2 separate regions of the Homo sapiens genome follow, and region 1 is linked to region 2. Evidence: promoter capture Hi-C in human tissues and cell types (Jung and others, 2019). All regions are on one chromosome and are shown on one strand. The core of a region is centred on a gene start or on the middle of the fragment in contact, and the rest is flanking DNA. Distances in the headings are between cores, read along the strand shown. Region 1 overlaps GRM8 (glutamate metabotropic receptor 8). Region 2 holds the start of GRM8 (glutamate metabotropic receptor 8).

Region 1 (3,674 bases), core at 246-2,745, 61 kb before region 2:
GTACAGGGAGAGATGGAGAATTAAGACCAGTGATGCAGTCTACCCCAGGTATATTTACATAAAAATAAAAAGCAGAGTATTATGAATTTATGAATTGCAAAGATGGAACCCATGCATATTTATAGATTCTGAAGTAACCAAACTAAAAGACAGTGCTTATTTTTTCTAATAAATATCTAGCTCAGACATTATTTTTTTAACTCATTCTTATTGTCATTATAATTAGTTAAATATTAGCTTGAGGTAAAAAAAATCATGCTGTGAATGAATTGATTTCTTTCTTCTATGGGTATTCTTTAGTCAAATGGTCTGGTAAAACACTTTTATGAGCTACTAAAAGCTTTGAACGTTTATGTAAGTCTATGACAACAGTACATTTTTCCAATTTTTACAGAGGAGAATTAAAATATCCTATCTGATATAACAAGGATTATGAATAGATTAAAAAATTATTTCAGTATTTTAAATTTAATACTCTCATTTAACAGGTTTGACAAAATGAAAAGTATTAGATTCTGATTCCTAGATTTGTATTTCTCATCTGATTCAATTATGTAAGCTTATATTTTAGAAATGCCAACTCCTTTACATCAGGGCCAAGACTAAATAACTCTGCAATATCAGAAGAAGCGTCACATTGAAAGAATGCTGAAATGAAATTACATTTCATCTCTACAAAAGTCAGAGTCTCTATTTCTGGGTTCAATGCATTTGACAGTTTAACTACCTACATTGTTTTTATCATATAAAAAAGGAGAGTGTTTTAATTTCAATCCCTTAACCTTCTAGCAATGAAATAGTTCCAGAGAATATAATGAATATAAAAGGGGTCAGTGTTCAAATTATATTCATTTATAGCTAATTGGAAAGTTTCTTTTGTTGCTGAAGACCAGGACCTTTTTCCTGTCTATCTGCTAGTGACTATCACTCTGATGCCTTAATCTTCAAGTGGACATTCTCTTCATTCAGTGCAATTATAGTAACCTGAAAGGTAATGTAGTCTCATAAGAGATATGCCATCATCACACAGATTTATGGGCAGAACCACATCCATAAAATTTAGAAAATTGCTTGTGTACTACCAGCCTATTTTGCCTGTTAATATAAATAATATTTTCAACATTAGCTACCAAGAGGACAAATTTCTCATAACTGACTTTCTGCTTAATTCTGTCAGATAATCTCTGCTGTAATATGATGAAGAATATACTGTGAAGAATTTCTGACAAGCTTCGTTTTTCTAGGGTGTTTTGCTGAAGAGGCCCAATCTGTTGTTTATTTGGGGCTGGTACCGCATTAAATTGATTTAGGGACACCATTTTCCATTTTTCTATCTTCCATGCTCTGTTAACTTATGTCATATTTATTACAACTCTTGGTTTTGCATGTATGTTTCAATTTGTGGTAGCAAACTGATGAAACACGTTTCTCCCCTTTTTTGTAAAATGGTGTTTAACAACTGCTACTCCTATTAATGTATTGCCACCTTATAAGTAAACTCAACATGAAGAGATCTACACAATATTCTGATTAAGAAATTCTACCTGGGGCACAGAATATATGTGAAATACCTTTTCAAATAAAAACTTGGAGGAAGTAAACAGAGCAAATGCATAAAAGAAGAACATATGTTTTATGCTACCAAATTATGCATCATTATTTTGAATAGCTAACCAAAGTTTGTTACAGATACTAAAGCTTCGTTTAAATTTTAGTCCATTTGCAGTTTGTCATTGTTGTTTAAAATTCCTCAGGCAGGGGTGTGAGTGGAGGAAGTTACTTCTCTAGGGAGATGAACTCTAAAATCTTGTTTCTGGGAGATACTGCAATTTGTGGTCTCAGATTCTAGACTATTCCAAAGAAAGCTCTCTGAGCTCCTGTGTGTTAATTTATGACATATCTGCTCTCACCCGATAGGTTTGTGCTTTATCACGAGTCTCAGGGAGCCCATCAGGGCTCACAAAGGAAAGAAGTCTGAGACACATAAAAAATATATGACTCCAAGCCAGGGAGCACTTTACGTTGTACACAGCAAAGGAACCCCTGGTACCACTGAACATGAAGGTCATGTTCTACGCAAGTACAAGGACTGGGCTGCCATCCTTACATTCTTCATGTTATTAAAACAAAATGTCTAATCATGCCTGAAGCTGCCCAAAGCCTTGTTGGCGAAGAGATATCAAGCTGGAACACAGCAAGTCCACACCTTCTGCTTTCACCCACTCCCACTTTCTGTATGCACACTCTGACCCTGCTCTGGCCAGACTGACCTATTTATCCCCTTCCCCTAAAGGTATCTCATGTTTCCCACCTTCAAGCCTCTCCACACCTATATTTTACTCATCTTTTAAGGTCCAATTTCTTAGAGTACTCCAAATCCAAAGTCAGTGCGATCTCCAGAGAGAAACAATACTTTTAATTTCTCTACTGTCCATATAGCTACCATAAGACTTATGTAAGTATTCACTGTTTCCCTAATAGATTACACATTTTCTAAGGATAAAACCATATTTGAATGTCCAGTTATGCTCCTAAGTGGCTAACATTGAGCCTTACTCAAAGTAAATGCATAACACAAATTTGTTTTTATGCTTTTAATACATGTTGGTATTTTTAATATTTTTCTTCTCGACAAAAGAACACAACATCATCATACATACAACCTTCAAACATAAATGAGAATGTAAAAGCCATAACCTCCATCAATGTCCAATCAAAGTGCTGGTCAATGGAAGAGAGAGTTTACACCATTGACCCAAGCATATGTTTCAGGCTGTGGTGAAGCTTGAAATTTTCATATCATTTATTTGCTGGATGACCCAATTAGGTCAAAACCTACTTTTCTTTATTGGAATGAATCCCCTAGCAGGTAGGTCAACTCCGCAGGACAAAGCTTCTAAGCAAATGTGAGGTCGGTTAATTCTCATATCAACTCTAATTTGCAGCAAGACTCCCATGGCATTTCAAGAGGCTTTGAGTCTTTCTGAGGCTTAAAGAGTGAGGTAGTAGCTTCTTTTGAGCAATTGGTAATACTTTGGGTCAAGAACGGTAGCTATGGAACATATCCTAATAATCACCTTCTCAAATGTTACAGAGTCTTGCAAGTGACAGAAAAAGATGGAAAAAAATACTCTCACAGTTTAGGAAACTGCTTTCATAAGCTTTGGCATCTCTAAAACTTAGATTCCAGCCCATCCAAAGAGCTCTTTCTGCAGTATCTGTTTTCAGGAAACATTTTCATCATTGATCCAAGCATCAGAAAACAAAAACAAACATAAAAATACAACATAAGATCCCAAAAGCATCAGCATTCAATCACTGTCATTACATGAATTATACTTGAAGCATGAGCAAGACACATGAGGCCCTATCTCAAAGATGAGCCACCCCTACTGGTGATAGAGGGCACCCAGAGAGAAGCAAGACCCTCATTTACCACCAGCTGACCCACAGGCTCTGAGCTCCTCCAATGACTGAGTCCAAAGATGTAGCTTCCCCTCACTCTTTCAAAACTAGTCCTATGTTTTCAATAACTAGCTTTTCTCTGCCTCAGCATCCTCGAGTATACAACAAAACAGTAGAGGATGATAGAAAAATGTGGGCTTTAGAGTTGGAGTCCAACAAACCAAGGTTATGATCTTGGATAACTTCATCAATCTCTCTTAGCTTTAGTT
Region 2 (4,112 bases), core at 26-2,525:
CTCCGCCCCCGCCGCACCTGGCCGCCCGAGCGCCCGCGCCCACGCCCCGCGCGGGGCCGCCCGAAACTGGGGCCGCGCCAGCCGCGGGAGCTACCGAGGAGCTGTTGGGGTGCGTTTGCCTTTGCTTTTTAAACAAGATCCCCGAGACCTTTTCTCCATCCCCCCAACCCCCAGCAGGACACGGAACTCCGGCGTTTCTCGAAAGCCACAAAAGAGGGGCACGGAAATCCCAAGCTCGCCGTGCTAACTCGGAGAACGCAAACTCGAGGCAGAGCGTGCGCCGTGCGGGGATGTGGGTGTCGAGGACCCCGAAGCGCCCGGCTTCCCCCGCGACCCCCATCCTCCCTAGATCCTGGTTAGACATCCATCCAGCCCACGCTCAGAGGGCGGGGGTTACCCCGACTCATCCCGGAAGCCGCTAACTTCAGAAATCCCTCCTGTTAGGTTCGCGAAACGAAGGTACCTCGTCATCTCGGCGGGGCAAGTCCGGATTCCACCAGGGCAGGTCCGGGAGGTCACCCAGGGCAGACGATCCGAGGCAGAGCGCTTTAAAATCCTGCCGCCGCACGCCCAGTCAGAGCGCCGAGCGCGCCTGCCCCCTTCCCGTCACCCTTCAGTCTCCCATTCGCCGACTAAACTTTTGGGGGATCACATCTCCAAGCCTTGGGAGTTCCGGGTAAAGTCTCCCTCTTTTCTGAACCTCTTTACTGTAATGTAATCATGGGCAGACAAGAGGGGTGGCTGCCTTGTTCTTTGCAACGTAAAATCAACAGACACCCAATCAAGCTCCAATGCCCGGCCAGCCCCTCGCCCCCTGGTGCCCACTCTCCTTCTCCCCCCATTCCCGTCACCTCCGCCCGCTATTTCTCTCACAGACTACGGACATGCAGGGCCATCTACTTGTGCTCAGGAAAAACAAATCACTAGAGTGATATGAGAAGGAATGGTGCACCTGGCTGTCCGCTGAAAGGTTTTAGAGAAGAAAACGGAAAGGGGAATAAAACGGGGGGATTCTCCTTTTCCAACAAGCAGGGCGTTTTGGGGAAGTTTGGGGGCCAGGGGCTTTTTGTCCCGTGGTTCGGCACTTGCTTTCCTCGGAGCCGCTTTCTGCTGCCGGGCGGCGAGTCTTACCCTGCTCCCCGCAGAGGGCGCGGTGAGGAAGCCCGCCGGGGGCCCGCAGCTCCATGTCAGCGCCGCCGCCGCCGCCGCCGCCGCCGCGTGAGGCGAGCACAGCGGCCGCACTTGTGGCTGATCTCTGGGCTGAGGGGGCTGAGCTGGCCTAGCAGGCGCCAAGTCTCTTCCATGTGAATAACAAATACTCCCACCGGCGGCCGCGATTGGTCTGCGCCCGGCGCCTCCCGATCCTCCGCCCGCGGCCATTCACCCGGCGCGGCGCGGGGAGCCGCGGCCAGGATCGCGCCCGGGATCGCCAATCGCTTCGCGCCAACCAGTCACCTCGGGAAGCGGGAGGAGGAACCCCCGAGGGGCGGGAGCCTCTGGATTTCGGTGTCACCCAGCGGCCCTGGCGCGGGCAGGGAGGGGGACCCTCGGCCCGCGGATCCCCCTCCGCTCTTCAGCCTGAAGCGACGAGGAGACCAGAAATGTCAATAGTTCTGATTTTTAAAAATCATCCCCCCTTCCCCGCCCCCAAGAAAAAGGGGAGGACCCAACTACAGAGTGAGAGGGTGGGAAGAAGCGGGAGCGGTAGAAGAAGGAATATGGTTGTGGAGGAGCCCAGCGGCTCCGGCTGCCTGGCGAGCCCGGGACCGGCGCGGGGAGGCGCGACGCCCGCCCGAGCACAGCGGGCAGCACCCGCGAGCCCGGGTCCCCGGTGAACACAGCTCCAGAAAGCGTCACCGAGAATAACACATGGTAGATGACAAGTGTCCCGCCACATGCTTTCTTTTCGGGAATGCTTAAAGTAGAGCCGGCAAGCCGCGCGGTTCCCTTGCAAAGTTTGCCTGGCGCCGCGCGGCGGTTCCGCCATTTGTCCCGCCCCGCGGCTCTGGCGATTGTCTCCCCACTCCCCGCCCCCGAGGGTCTGAGGGACGCGTGCAACAGAGTCCCCAGGGCTCGAGGTACCACACAGCGCGGTCCGCTGCGGGCACTGCGCAGGAAGGGGCATGGGTGGCTACCGGGACGGTCATTTTATTGAGATGATTCAAGGAGCCGCAGACGCGGGGCAGGAAACTCCGGGGGAGCCGTGCTCGGGTTCTGCAGGGAAACCTCGGGATTCCCTTCGCATGCCGCATGCGGAAACCTGCCGGGCTCGACGTGCACAGTCCAGCGCTCCTCCCCACTAGTTACTGCCCAGGCCCCCCGATCCTGCACCCGCCGGAATGAGAGAAAGTAGCCCCTCGCCGCCCAGCTCCCGGGTAGCTGCTCCGGCCGGGCCTTGCGTTGGTGAGAAAGTTCCATCTAGAGGCGGCCGCGCGCAACTGCAGGCGGCGCCCTAGGCCCGGGCGAGCCAGGGAGAGCGGGGCGCGGGGGGAGAGGGGGCAGCCCAGGAGATAAGGAGGATGGAGAAGGACGGGAGAGACCCCGAAAAGGCAAGCTCTAGACCCCCGTTCGGCATCTCTACAATGAATTTTATCTTCCTAAGCATCATGAACTTATAAGCATTATGTCAGGAATCTTTCATTAATTCCTGTATATATCGCCTGTTCTGTTCGGGTTATTTTAATTTTCACATCAACTCTGTGAGATGGTCAAAATTATTAAGCCCACTCTACAGATGGAGGCAGAAGCCGAGGCTTAGAGACACGGCTGGAAAGTATTACAGCCAGAAATCAGTGTCTGGCTTCAAAACCCCATAGCACTTCCTCCCTGGTGGTGTTGGCTTTTCCCAAGGCTGGTTGTAATGTGCGAAGTTTCGATTGAGGAAACAGCTGTCTCTCTCCTAATTTCAAAAAAGGACCCTTGCCCTTTGTCACTTAGAAAAAATCTACAGGTTTTCAGCCCAGGGCACCTCTTCCCCTTTCGTTCCCTTCCTTCTCCCATCTCATGAGAGGCTCTTTGATTGTTGAATCATTATTTTATAGCTGCAACCACAAAAGAGGGAGGGAGGAGGATTTGGAGAGAGAAAATGGGCTGGGTCCTCTGTCTGAAAACCTTTCTGCATAGGGAACCTCAATTCCCTGTGAATGTCTAGTGCAGCTCTGAAGAGGGTGATCAGTGTCCGGTGCCACTTGGGACAAGGAAGGTGGGAAGAGGGAAGAGCTCCTAATTTATGCGGAGATGGGGCTGGGTGGACTTCCTGGTTGCACGCCTGCGTGTAAGACGCTTTAAAGATTTTCTTTTCTTAGGGACTGGAAGAGATCCCTCCTCCCCCAGAAGTGTAAAGTAAGTGCAGTGGCCTGATTTCTATAGCAGGAAGCCCACTCCACCCCAAACTCCAGACCCATGATCCCGGTCTGAGCAATGATATCACAGATAACGTAGAGGTATGAATAAGTCCGTTTTAGACCATTTACTACGTGTGCATTGATAAATTTGAGGGGAAAAGAGACACGACGGAGGGGAAAGGCAGAGGAGGCCCGCAAATACGTTGGGCATCGACAACTGCTGACCACACATCGTCTTCAGGGTAGGCTAGAGGCCAGCTGCAGGGCCAGTTGGGTCGTTGCCTGGCATGAGCCAAGAGGGCAGCAGCCTGGTGCTCTAGTGGGCCCATTTTAATAATAAGGGCAATAAGGCTGGCTGTGGCTTTGGAAGCCTAAGGAGGCCGAGTGAGCCTCTTGGGGAAGAAATGCCTAATGAGCTGCCTTTCTCCTTTCCCTATTGATCATTACCTGCAGAGAACTGATGTCTTACAGGCACATCGCTGCCCTTTTTGGTGCAGCCTTCTGCGAGAAAACTAGACTTGATCTCTCCTAAGGAAAGTGCAAGTCCGATGCTTCGTTTTGCATCATCTTTAACTCTTGATACTCAAAATAGAACCATCACTCAAATCCTACATGGAATCTGGTCAATAAGAAATAGAGCCCTTCTATATATTCTTCAGTGTTTCCAATGGCTTTATCTAGTAGCCCCTGAGCAAGTGACACAGCCTTCTGTACAGGTTATAATTTGCCCATGTACAGGTTATAATTCGCCCAGACTGATAGCAACAC

What was found. The method cuts DNA at HindIII sites, captures the fragments that hold promoters and counts their contacts. A contact is called where the count stands out against the background at its distance.
Region 1: a contact is called between a fragment that was not itself captured here and the fragment with the promoter of GRM8 in region 2, in 3 of the 25 tissues and cell types used here (hippocampus, neural progenitor cells and psoas muscle).

Annotation. Positions count from the first base shown.
Region 1 is chr7:127,190,610-127,194,283 of GRCh38, forward strand. All of the region lies in intron 2 of GRM8 (glutamate metabotropic receptor 8), which reads right to left. Among named protein-coding and RNA genes, the nearest start is that of GRM8-AS1, 23 kb to the right of the region's middle. The HindIII fragment of the contact is 3,064 bases long and covers 1-3,027 here.
Region 2 is chr7:127,251,666-127,255,777 of GRCh38, forward strand. GRM8 (glutamate metabotropic receptor 8) reads right to left here and starts at 1,276. Exons shown (of 11, transcript NM_000845.3): 1 at 1,132-1,276. RefSeq lists an enhancer at 2,114-2,363 and a silencer at 2,484-2,543. The HindIII fragment of the contact is 12,389 bases long and covers 1-4,112 here.